2 separate regions of the Homo sapiens genome follow, and region 2 is linked to region 1. Evidence: promoter capture Hi-C in human tissues and cell types (Jung and others, 2019). All regions are on one chromosome and are shown on one strand. Each heading gives the region's core, a stretch centred on a gene start or on the middle of the fragment in contact. The rest is flanking DNA. Distances are from core to core; before and after follow the strand shown.

Region 1 (6,577 bases), core at 1,736-4,235:
GAACCCCAAAATTTATATTTTAGAATGTTCACCATAGTATTCATTTTAGGAATAAAACTGGAAACAACATCCAACTCTAGGGGATTAGCTAAATAAATATTAAGTCAGTGCAGAGCACATTTATGCGGCCATTCCAAATCAATCTACATTTTGTTTCCCCTGGAAACATTAGGCAGTATTTAAACCTTCAACCTTTGATTCTCTTTTTCCCAGAAGACACTTTCTGATGGCTGTACCAATAACTTGGTAAAAACAAAACGGGCCACTTGTCCTCATGTCTAATTCACACTAACTTCCATTCTTCCTAGCCCCCTTCCTTCCAACCTGGGCAGGCAGGGCTAAGCACTGGGCTCTGAACTCAGTCCAAAGGGCTCTTTTTTGGAGATTTCAGGCCTCTGCATTTGGCAAAGTGCCTCCTAGTCTTGATCATGTTTTTTTTTTTTTTAATATCTGGCATGTATTTCCATATAGCAGCGTACAGCACAGAAACTCTCAAATACCCTTTCATTCAGCAAACACACACACTAGTGCCTGTTCTGTGCCAGGCACACAGGAGGCCTTGGGAAGACAAAGATGAATGAGATACAGCCTCTGTTTTCGTTGGTGACACAACTGAAGTATAGCTGTCATGGAGGAGGAGTTACAGCCAACACAGAAAAATTATTTCATTTTATGCTTCTCCATAAGACCTCTTCTAATGTGCTTGAATCTACTGTCCAACAGAGAAGAGGACCTGGACACTTCCCTCCACCACCACCCCCCGCCCTTCTCCTGAAGACCTGAAATTGAATCTCAGTTCTGCCACTTACTGGCTGTGGGATCTTGAGTTCCTACTTGAGTTTTCAGCTTTCTCATCTGTAAAATGGGAATCCAAACTGTACTTACGTCACAAGGCTGTTGGGAGAATTCAATGACATAATGCACGAAAATATTTTCTCAACATATGAAGCCCTGCATCTCCTTAGTCATTCATTACATTTGTCTGCTCACAGTTCTCTGGCTTGGCAAGTGTCATCAAGCAAATGAGACGTCAAGCCATCCTACTGTGTTTGTTAGTTCCATCTGCTGCTGTCCCCTCCTGTAAAACGTGGACATTTTAAAAGACAGCGGGGAGGGCCTCCTGGAGACAATGTATGTGAGCCTCCCTCCTAGAATGGCAGTGAGAGAAAGTTCTCCTAGACAGGTATGATATCACTGCATTTTAAAGATCTTACCGAGCCAGTGGTCCCCTGCCCCGTGGGAGGAGAGTGTGGCTTCACTCTTGGCCCCAAGGTCACTAAAACCTAGACTGTGCTATCACCCCCCTGACCCGTGTGTCTCACCTTGGGCAGGTCTGTGGCCCCACGGATCCGTTGCGCCACCTTCTCTCCATCGGGGTGGATCTTGGCCACGTGTTTCCACATCCTTTCCCAGGTGGCCTCATCCACAGGTAGCCCACCCCGGTTGACAAAGAAGGGGACGCCTCCGTCTCGCAGGTCCTCTTCCCCTTCCTCTTCTGGCTCCTCATCTCTCTGGGCTGAGGTTCCTTCGCTGGTCTCCAAACGCCTGACCCCAGAGGGGGCGGTGGCCGCAGCGGACGTTGGAGTGGCACCGCTGCTGCCACCCCCAGCCACCTTCTTCCCCCCTGGCATCCCTAAATCTTCGAGGGGGGTGGTGGAGGCGGGAAAACAACTGGCTCACAAGAGGCCTCCCACACACCGGCTGCAGAGATAACACATGGCCAGAGTGCAAGGCGCCTTTAAGAAATCAGGGCGTGGCTCCTGTACAATAAAATACGACTTGATAAAAAAAATCAGTGCAATAAGGTGAATTAGGGTCCGAGGGGGTGGGTTGTCTGGGGTCAGCCTTGGAGGCCTTGTTCTGTTTGAAAAACGGAATAAAGAGAACACACCCCAACTTGGCAGCCGTCACAAAGCACCCCCATCTAACTGCGAGAACAATGACGGGCAGCAGTGAGGGCTGGCAGAGCGGAGAAAAGTCGGAGGGAAACTGAGGCCAGACAGCTCGGACCAGCGGCTGCAGAAAGGACAGAGTCAAGGCACGGGTGCCCACTGGGCGCCCTGGGTCTCAGTTTCGGAGGGAACAAAATCCCCTACACAACTCTCGCACGCTCACATCTGCGCGCGCCCCAAGGAAGACCGAGGCGACTCCCGGCCGCGCGAGCTCGGAACCAAGACCCCCGGGCGGGAGAGCGGCGCTGGGGGGCGATTTCTCCGACGCGACGAGACAAGTCCGGGAGCCAAGACTCGCAGCTGGCCGGGAGCGGGGAGGGGGCGCGCGCCGACGCGCACATTCCCCGCCTGCGGCCAACTCCCTGCACAAAGTGGGCTTTGTCTGGGTCCCCTGTCCCCTCGTCCCCAGAAACAGCGGCGGAGTCCCCAGAAAGGGAGCGGGCGCGGCGGGGAGGCGAAGGCTGCGAGCCCCGAGGCCCAGCGGGTCCCCACTCGGGCGCGTCTCAGCGGGAGGACGGCTGGCACCTGGCGCCGCGCTGCACCAGCCGAGCCATCGCAGGGCACGGGGCCCGCGGCTCAGCGGGACCGGCTCGGGCGGCGCGCAGGGGCCAGGCTGAGGTCACTGAGCGGCGGGCTGCGGCCGCGGGGTCGCTGCCTGGGACTGGCTGCAGCATGGGCGGTGGCGCGGCCCGGGCGGGCGGAGGATGCTCCGTGGCTGTTCGCTCGGGCTGCAGCTGCCCTGGCTGAGGGTGGAGGAAGGACCGCGGGGCGGGGACCGCAAGCCCGGAGGCTCGCGCAGCCTCGGCCGGCGGATGTAGCTGGAGGCGAGTGACGAAGCCGGGCGAGCGCGCGCTGCGCTGGTGCCTGGGGAGCAGCCCGCCAACGCGGAGCCCGCCAACGAGAAGCCCACCAGCCGATCGCTGCTCGGCGAAGCTGGGGCCGCCGCTGCTGCAGCCCCGCCGCCCCTGGGCCCCGCTGCCGCCGACCACGTCCCCTGCCAGCCAGCCGCCCACCAGGCTCGACTACGGCCCGCGCCGCGCATGCGCTCCGTCCCCCCCTTAAAGGGCCAGCGCCTTCGCGCCCAGTCCTCCGCCCCCCGCGGCGGTGCCTCTGTCCCAAGTTACCCCAAGGACGCCGGTGGGCATTCGCTCCCTCCTCACCCAGCTGTCAGGGCGCCGCGAAGCCGGTGCGAAGCTGCGGAGGACGTTTTCAACGTGCCAGAGGGAGCGCAAACTCCATGGAGATTCCTAGCGCAGAAGGAATTCCTGCGGTCGGGAATTTCTTGAAAAAGATTCTTCGCAGGGGCCCTGAGCCGGTAGGACCGAGAGCACTGGCCTGGAAGACTGGGATTCTAGACCGGATTCAGTGCCTGTGTTGCTTTGGGACGTTCAGCAGTTCCCTTCCCTCTGTAGGCCTCAGTTTCCCCATATCCCAGCCGAGGTGGTCACAGTGAGTGAGCGCAGAGTCCCTCCCAGCGCGCACAGTTCTTAGAGGAGGACATCTAGGGATTGAGACGGGGGGTCACTATCTCTGGAAACGAAAAGGGTTAAAAGTCACCCTGTTTTATTCGATTGCCTGCACTGGTGGGAATGGGGTGCGCAGAGCTCACCCCTAGACCATCTGCCTAGACCGGGCTTTGGACGCTCTGGACCCCGCGGACCAGGGTGGGACCGCGACGTGGGCGTGGGAGGCAATGCTTGGGGAGGGTCCGCTGGCCTAGAGGAAGGTGAAAGTACAACCAGCTGTGGTGCGTGGTTGGACACTGGACGCACCCTCCGCCTCCCTCATGCCATAGAGTTGTAAATGGTGGGAAAGGCACTATCTCTAGGCTGAAGCCAAGAACTTTAGGAAGAGACGGCCGAGTGTGTGCTTTAAGATGCTCCCCCTCTCCCCTGCCTGTAGTTAGCATGAATCACAGTCTTGTGGGAGAATGCAGATTCCTTGGCCTTAGCCGGCAGATTCAGATTCCTTAGTTGTGGGGTCGTTGCATTTCTTGACAAGCTGAGGTTACTACACAAGGGCTGGGTTAAAGGCCTTAGAGAGACCCCAGGGCCTCAGTGGTTTCACATCTGTTCTCTAAAGCTGTCCCTAGTATCTGAACTTTCTGGGTACCCTGTGCTCCCGTAGCAACCTCTTACTACCTCCAGGGTCAGAAACCAAGGGTTATCAGTGATGGGAAGGATTGCAAGACTCCAAGAAAGTTAGTTCAGCCTGGATCTTCTTAAACTCACTAAGGCAAGAAGACTCCAAGCGTAGAAAAATCACTAGGGATCAACAACTATCACCCTGTATTGTATAAACCAAGTCTCAGAGGGTAATTTCCCCAAACTCACACAGCTAGTAAGTGGCAGAGCTAGAATGTGAACAGAAGTCTTACTTCTTCAGACACTTGTTTTTCACTCTATACATTGCTTCTTGTGTTAGCCAAGTGGTGCTGGTTTTAAAATTGGCTTGCAAGCTCTTGACCATTCTTTTCAAAAGATGGGATCTAATTCCTTTCCCCCTGAATGTGGGATGTACTTGGTGACTGGTGTCTAATGAATAAAGTGTGATGAAAGTGAAGCTGTATGACTCTTAAGACCAGGCCATAAAAAGGAGACAGCTTCTTCTTGGTTCCTCAGAAGAAACCAGCTACCATGTTGTGAAGAAGCCCAAGCCACATGGTGAGGCCACATGAGGGTGTTCTCGCTGACAGCTGCTGCTGGGCTCTCAGCCAACAGCCAGAGTCAATCACCAGATCATGGCAAACCGAGACTTCAGGTCTTGCCAGCCCTCGGCCTTTAAGTCTTAGAGTTGAGGTCCCAGACATGGAGCAGAGAACAACCAGCCCTGCTGTGCCCTGTCTGACTTTCTGTCCCACAGAAATTGAGAGAGGATAAGTGACTATTCTCGTTTTAAGCTGCTAAGTTTTGGACTAACTTGTTACGCAGCATGAGATAATACCATGTGTTTTCTGAAATGACAAATAAAATAGATGTAGGGTATTCATTCAAAGAGTAAGTACTCATAGAACATCTTCTATGTGTTTGACTCTGTACTGGGCACTGGAGAAGCAGTAGTGAACAAGAGGGACATGGCCTTTGCTCTAGTTGGACTTATGGCCTACTAGTGGAGGAGATAGTTAAGCATGATTTCCATAAGGTGCTCTGCCAGAGGGTTATTCAGGAAGCTGTGGGAGTGCATACCCAGAGCAACTTCCCAATCAGGTGAGGAGCTGGGAAAAGAAGAAATGAGTTGGGTACAAGGTCAGCATGGACTAGGCTAGAGAATTTTCTGGCATGTGTGCATAGAAGTGGAAGAGGGTATGTGTCAGGCAAGGGGGCTTGCAAATAGATTAGAAAATGGTGAAACTGGAAAGAGATGTGTATAACCCAGTCTTATCTAAGCCAAAAGCCCAGAGAGAACAAGTGACTTAACCTGGTATGGCACAACTTTTGAATTGGTCTCAGATCCTGGGTCCTTCATCAAGCCCTCCCATGACTCCCCACACCTATGCCTTGGGAACAACTCCTCCAACAGACACTTGGGTAACTCCTTATTTGGCTCAAAGCTTTCGTGACCGTTATTTTTCTTTTTTTTCTTTTTTTTTTTTTTCCCCTGAGACAGAGTCTCGGTCTGTCACCCAGGCTGGAGTGCAGTGGCTCGATCTCTGCTCACTGCAGCCTCTGCCTCCCAGGTTCAAGTGATTCTCTGCCTCAGTTTCCTGAGTAGCTGGAATTATAGGTGCCTGCCACCATGTCTGTCTAATTTTTGTATTTTTAGTAGAGATGGGGTTTCACCATGTTGGCCAGGCTGGTCTCCAACTCCTGACCTCAAGTGATCTGTCTGCTTCGGCCTCCCAAATTGCTGGGCTTACAGGCGTGAGCCACCGCGCCCGGCCCTCATGACAATTATTCCTTTTGCTGTCTTCACAAAAACCGTGGAAGAGTTAGGATGAGTATGATTTCCATTTTACAGATGAAGAAAGGATGCATAAGAGAAGCTAGGCAAATTACATACCTAGTACAGGAGCAGGCACATCTGAGCTGCTGGGTACAAGTCACTTTCATGATGACAAGGATGACGATAATGACGCCTAACTCATATCATGTGTCACATTTGTTATCGTCACACTCTGGACTAATGGTCTGCAAATGAACGCATGTTGTCTTAGGGCATCAACACTCATATTAATCTGCTCTGACACATTTTCTATTCTTGTGACACAGAAGCTAGAGTGAAATTTCCAGAGAGAAGAGTCTGTTGACTTAGCTTGGATCCTTGGCTAGAGGAGGATGGGGCAATTTCATTAGCCAAGACTACAGGTGGTTGGGGGAGAAGGACTGCCCTAAAGGTAAATGGGGTGCTGTTAGTAAAAGAGGGGCATGGAGGCACACAGGTATAGATGTGTTTATAAAAGGTAGATGTTCTGACTCAACTTTTTGCTGTTTTCATGTTCATAATTTATGAGGTAAAAGAAGAAAAGAAAAGGAGTTTAATCCCAAGAAAGAATCACAGAGCAGAACTGTCCAATAGAAATTTCTGCAATGGGCCAGGCGCAGTGGCTCATGCCTGTAATCCCAGCACTTTGGGAGGCTGAGGGGGGTGAATCACGAGGTCAGGAGTTCAAGACCAGCCTGGCCAAT
Region 2 (6,911 bases), core at 2,845-5,344, 79 kb after region 1:
GATCACAAAGGGGTATGAGGAAGCTTTGGAGGTGATGACTATGTTGATTATCTTGATTGCAGTGATAGGTTCTCAGATGTGTACATGTGTCAAAACATATCAAACTCTTTACATATTAGCAGTTTATTTTTTTTGTCTTTTTATGAAAGATAGTAATTTAATATCTGGTCTTTTACAAATTTTATTGAAGAAGTAAAAGATAAAACATATTTTCTCCCAAATGAAGAATCTTTCTATTTTATATAAGTGTGCCTGGTCTTCCTCAACAGTTCTGCAAAAATAGATTATTCTCAAACAGGAACCTAGGTAAACAAATGAAATTTATTTGTCATGTAACAGTTTAGATATTACTCTTCCTATATTTTAGGTGCAGTTAGCTTGTGCTATATATACGAATATATAGTATGGCATTAGGGTAAAATCAAGTTAAGGTTATAATTTTTTTTTTTAATTTGTGAAACAGTATTCATTTTTTTCTCTTTATGTGTTTTTTTTAAATTTTATTATTACACTTTAAGTTCTAGGGTACATGTGCACAACATGCAGGTTTGTTACATATGTGTACATGTGCCATGTTGGTGTGCTGCACCCATTAACTCATCATTTCGCATTAGGTATAACTCCTAATGCTATCCTTCCCCCCTCCCCCCACATATTAGCAGTTTATTATAAGTCAACTATAGCTCAGTAAAACTTAAAGAACAAACAAATAAACTTCAGAGAATGTGTTACCACAAAACCTGAAACAAAGCAAAAGGTATTTTTTCAGAAGAAGCTGAGATGTCAGAAGGAATAAAGAACAATGAAAATGATAACTAGTGGGTAAATCTAAATAAATATTGACATCATAATAATAGAACTTAACTCATTTTGAAATATACATGGAATTAAAATATATTACAACAATGGCCTATAAATCAGGAGGGGGAATGGATTTAAAAGGTTCTGAGGTTCTTGCATTTATCCAAGAAGAGACAAATATAACAGTTAATAATAACAGACAAATTCATAGGAGAATCAATATTGTCAAAATGTTCATACTACTGAGGTGATGTACAGATTCAATGCAATCTCATCAAAATTCCAATGGCATTTTTTTTACAGAAATAGAAAAAATAATCTTAAAATTGGTATGAAACCACAGAAGACACCAAATAGCCAAAGTAATCTTGAGCAGAAACAAAGCTGGAGGCTTCACACTTTCTGATTTCAAATCATATTGCAAAGCTATAGCAATCAAACAGTTTGGCACTGGCATAAAAACAGACACATAGATCAATGGAACAGGATAGAAAGTTCAGGAATAAACACATGCATATGTGATCAACTAATCTTTGACAAAGGTAGCAAGAATATATAATGGAGAGAGGATAGTCTCTTCAATACATGGCTTTGGGGAAACTGGATATCCACTTGAGAAATCAAACCAAACAAACCAAAAACAATGGAATCAGATCCTTATCTCACACCATACACCAAAAATCAACTATAAATAGATTAAAGGTATAGACTTAAGACCTAAAAATATAAGATCCTTAAAAGAAAACATAGGAGAAAATCTCCAGTGGTCTTGGCAATGATTTTTGGATAAGATACCAAAAGCAGGCAATAAAAACAAAAATAAACAAATGGGACTACATTGAACTAAAAGTTTCTACACAGCAAAAGAACCAGTCAGCGAAGTGACATGACAGCTCACATAATGGGAGAAAATATTTGCAAAGGGATTAATATCCAAAACATATAAAGAACTTATTCAACTCAGTAGAAAAAACCCTCAAATAACTGCATTTTAAAATGGGCAAAGACCAGCCTGGGAAACATGGTGAAAACCCGTTTCCACAAAAACACAAAAATTAGCTGGGCATAGTGGTGCACACCTGTGGTCCCAGCTACTTGGGAGGCTTAGGTGGAAGGATCACTGCACTTCAGCCTGGGTGACAGAGTGAGACCCTGTCTCAAAAAAAAAAAAAAAAAAGGAAAAATTAAAAAAAATGGGCAATTTGATATTTTTCTGAAAATGACATACAGATGGCTAACAGATACATAAAAAAGGTGGTCAGTGTCTCTAATTATCAGGGAAATACAAATCAAAACCACAAGGAGATACTGCCTCAAACTTGTTAGGATGGCTACTATTAAAAAGTCAAAGGATAACAAATGTTGGTGAGGATGTGGAGGAAAGGGAACCCTTCTCCATTCTTGTGAGAATGTAAATTGGTACAGTCATATGGAAAACAGTACAGAGGTTCCTCAAAAAGTTAACAATATAATTATCATATGATCTAGTATTTCTACCTCTGGATATATATTCATGGAAAATAAAATCACTATATCAAAGAAATATTTGCACTCCTATGTTCACTGCAGCATTATTTATAATAGCCAAGATATGGAAACAAACCAAGTATCCATCAAGGGATGAATGGATTTTTAAAATGTGATATATATATGTATATACATGTACATATATACATATATATATCACATTTTAAATGAAATATATCACATTTAGATGAAATAAGCTAGGCACAGGAAGACAAACGTTGCATGATTTCACTTATACATAAAAAAGTAGAACTCAGAGACACAGAGTACAATGATGGTTTCCAGGAAAGAGGTGGGGGAAATGGGAAATGCTGGTCAAAAGATGCAAATTTGCAGTTATAAGATGAATTAGTTCTAGATACCTAACATATAGCATAGTGACTATAATTAATACTAACATTTTACTTAAATATATACAATTTTTGTCAATCATACCTCTAAAGCTGAAAAAAGGAAAATAAATGGACAGAGAGAAAAGGGATGAATCAAGAAAGCATGTTGTAATCCTTATTGTCAGTAGGACATTAGCAAATAAGACATAAGCAGAAATGTGAACGGCACCTGTGCATTCAGTCTTTCTCTCTTATTGTTCTAGAGACCCTTGCCATGGCTGCCATGTGAAGAAGCCTGTGTTGGCTTGTCTTTCAATGATAGATGTAGGGCTCAATTGTCTCTATGCCCAAAGGGCCAGCCAGGTAAGCATTGGAAACAAGCCATCCAGCTGACCAGCAGCTGGCTGTAGAAGCATGAGTGAGCCCAGCCCACACCAGCAGATGAACCTATTGGCTAAATACAGCCCAGATTATGGATCCACAAAATTCTGAGCTGAACAAATGATTGTTGTTTTAAGCCACTAAATTTTGAGGTGGTTTGTTATACAACATGAGCTGATTGATGGAGAAATTGACACCTATAAGTGGGGTGCTGCTGAACTAAAAACCTGAAACATGAGCCATTGTCTTTAGGACTGAGTGACAGAGGATAGAAAAGCAGCAAGGGAACTATTTCCAAAGCTTGGAAAATTTGCAAATAAACAGTTGTGGAGGCTGGAATGTAATGAGGAAACTGCTCTAGAAGGCTGGGAAATTGAGGATCTGTGTTGAATAGTAGTAACATTTGACAAAGCTGTTGTTGCCCATGGTAACTGTATAATAGAAAATAAATCTAATAAACTTGGACATTGGCAAGGTGATTCCCGGAAGAATGTTGAAAGTGTTTTAGAATGTTTTAGCTGCCTGTGATAAGGTATGGGAAGAGAGAGATCAGCTATAGAAAGAATTGTTCAGTTTGCGACAAGAGTAGCTATAGAGAAGTCATAAAGTAATGGGTTGAAAACCAAAACTACTTCTTAATTCTGGTGTTTCAAGCCAGTAAATTATTTTCAAAGTAAGTAATGGCCTCAGGGTAAAGAATTAAGAGCGTAACTGTGGGATCCTTAGATAAGACCTTGATAAGATTTATGGTGGCTCCTAGTAGATCCTCTCTACTAGATAAAAGGGATTTAGTTTGCCAAAATTAGCAAGAGGCTATCTAGGAAAGAATTTTAAATGTGGCTCTATGGCGTGAAGCTGACCAGAATCAGATAAACTGGAAACCCACAAAGTCTTTATGAGAACTGCATTGGCAAAAGCACTGCTGGCTAGGACTAAAAGGCTTTGAGACAATTTGAAATACTATACTTTAATACAAACTAATTCTAGCTATATGCATTAACACAGATAATGACCAGTTAGGCTTATCGTAAGAATGCAAAGTTGGTTTAATGTTAGACCACTGAATAAGGTAATGCATTATAGTAACAGATTAAAGGTGGAATAAACATACAATTTTTTTAAGTGAAGAACTGTTGGCAATATTAAAAATTAGATCATGATAAAAAACTTTTAGCAAATGATGGATAGAAGGAATCATCTTTAACCTAACAGAGGGAAATTAATTATATATTTTCAGAAAAGTACAAAGCATACTTAGTGGTAAAATGTTGAAAGCATTCTGTTTAAGGTCAGGAATTAGATGTAAATGTTAGTTACCATCACTTACATACAATATCATATTAGAAGTCTTAATAATTGTGGTAAGATAAGAAAAACATGTATATAAAATTTGAAAAAAAGTTACCACCATTTTCAAATGATACAGATGTCTATAAAAAATACCAAACTTTTTACAGATACAAATTTAGAATTAATAAGAGTATTTAGCACAGTTAATGGACACAAAATCAATATTCAAGCCAATTGCATTCAGCAACAATCCAAGAGTTCCTCTTGCAGGAGACATATTTACCAGGAGTCTTATAGAAGAATTTTCATTGTGTCTTAGTTTATAATAACAAAAATGGAAAAGAATGGAATAGTTATCAATGGTAAAATAGCTCTATACGTTAGGATATGTTCATACAACAGAAAACTACATACCACTAAAAACTAATAAACTGTAACTGTGTATATGAACAGAGATCATTCTCAAAAACATATGGTCAAGTAAAAAAATCATGTCTTAGAATAATAATACTGTATTGTCCCATTTACATAAAATTCAAAACCAGACAAACCAAAAAAGTATGTATTAATAGCTTAGTGACACATATACAGGAAGAAAATTAAAAGTAAAAACGAATGAAAAACAAAACATTTGAGGTCAGAGAGGTACTTCAAAGATGTGGAAGCTGTTCTATTTCTTAGGCTGGGTGGTGGGTTCACAGGTGTTTACTATTTTTAAATGGTACGTATACATCATTTATATTATTTTCTGTATGATACATTGCATAATTTAAAAGTTTTAAGAAATATTTAGTCTATGGGACATTTCCCCTATGAAGCTTTCACAAAACTGACTTTCCATAGGAACAGGTGGGTACGCCTTTTATTTATGTTCCCACAGATTCACCTCTTTTAAAACTTGTAGCAAATTATCCATCACTGTATATTTGTTGGTGTTCCCACCTAAATGGCGAGATCCTTGAAGACAAGAATTGCTTTTGTTATAAATAAAGTTTTGGTGCTGCAAAAGAAATAGCACTTGAATATAAAATTTTCTTTTTTTCTTCTCAGCAAGGCAAATTACTTCTATAGAAGGGTGTGCCCTCACAGATGGAGCAGTGGTGAGTGCACACCCGAACAAGGGAGGGGAAGGGGGGTCTTATTCCTGACACACGTGGCCCCTGCTGCTGTGTCATTCCCCTGTTGGTTAGGGTTAGACCGCATAGGCTAAACTAATTTCGATTGGCTAATTTAAAGAGAGTGACGGGGTGAGTGGTTTGGCAGGAAAAATGATTATGGCAGAGCAGGAAATCGGAATGAGTCAGGGTGGAGAATGAGCAGGTAATCAGAATGAGTCAGGGTGGAGCAGGTGATTGAAAAGGTTGCTTTACGAGGAAGTTAAGTTTAAAAGTAGAAGGCAAAGAATTGAACATACTGACATTGATTCTTTGAAGAGAAATTTAGAACTCATGTCTAACAATTTTCTTATCTATCTTAGTATCCTTGGCACTTAGCACATGGTCTGGTTAATAGTATGTGCTAATAAAGATTTCTTTTAGGGTGATGAGGGGATTAATTGTTGCTGAAAAGTAGTAAACCATACATATCCTCATGCACATGCATATACACAGCTTATTTTCTTTTCAGATTTGTCTTATATTACAGTCTAGTAATTTTCCAAATCTTGGTTTTTGTTTTTTTTTTTTGAGATGGAGTTTCCCTCTGTTACCCAAGATGGAGTGCAGTGGTGCGGTTTCAGCTTACTGCAGCCTCTGCCTCCCAGGTTCAGGAGATTGTCGTGCCTCAGCCTCCGGAATAGCTGATATTACAGGAAAGGGGTCTCAATCCAGACCACAAGAGAGGGTTCTTCAATCACGCACAAGAAAGAATTCAGGGCGAGTCCACAGTGCAAAGCAAAAGTGAGTTTATTAAGAAAGTAAAATGGTGAAAGTGTTACAGGAAAGGAGTCCCAATCTACATCCCAAGAAAGGGTTCTTGGATCTCGCACAAGAAAGAATTCAGGGTGAGTCTGCAGTGCAAAGTGAAAGCAAGTTTATTAAGAAAGTAAAGGAATAAAAGAATGGCTACTCCATAGACAGAGCAGCCCCGAGGGCTGCTGGTTGCCCATTTTTATGATTATTTCTTGGTGATATGCTAAACAAGGGGTGGATTGTTCATGCCTCCGCTTTTTAGACAATACAAGGTAACTTCCTGATGTTGCCATGGCGTTTGTAAACTGTCATGGTGCTGATGGGAGTGTAGCAGTGAGGACATACAGAGGTCACTCTCGTGGCCATTTTGGTTTGGTGGGTTTTGGCCGGCTCCTTTACTGCAAACTGTATTATCAGCAAGGTCTGTATGGACCTCTATTTTGTGTTGACCTCCTATCTCATCCTGTGACTTAGAATGCCTTACCCATCTGGGAATGCAGCCCAATAGGTTTCAGCCTTATTTTACCCAGCTCCTATTCAAGATGGAGTTGCTCTGGTTCACACACCTCTGAGAAAAGAACAGCTAGAGTAGGGCATTCCCGAAAGTAAGAGGAGGAACACGTCCACCCTAGGTACAATGCTTGTATATATAGGATAAAAAAGATCCTGG

Evidence for each region. The method cuts DNA at HindIII sites, captures the fragments that hold promoters and counts their contacts. A contact is called where the count stands out against the background at its distance.
Region 2: a fragment that was not itself captured here is called in contact with the fragment with the promoter of VASH1 in region 1 in 3 of the 25 tissues and cell types used here (H1 embryonic stem cells, lymphoblastoid cells and mesenchymal stem cells).

Annotation. Positions count from the first base shown.
Region 1 is chr14:76,757,876-76,764,452 of GRCh38, reverse strand. It overlaps VASH1 (vasohibin 1), which reads right to left and starts at 2,985. Exons shown (of 7, transcript NM_014909.5): 1 at 1,323-2,985. The coding sequence starts at 1,631. RefSeq lists silencers at 2,459-2,728, 2,829-3,018. The HindIII fragment of the contact is 11,814 bases long and covers 1-6,577 here.
Region 2 is chr14:76,679,593-76,686,503 of GRCh38, reverse strand. No RefSeq gene overlaps it. Among named protein-coding and RNA genes, the nearest start is that of VASH1, 78 kb to the left of the region's middle. The HindIII fragment of the contact is 4,823 bases long and covers 1,683-6,505 here.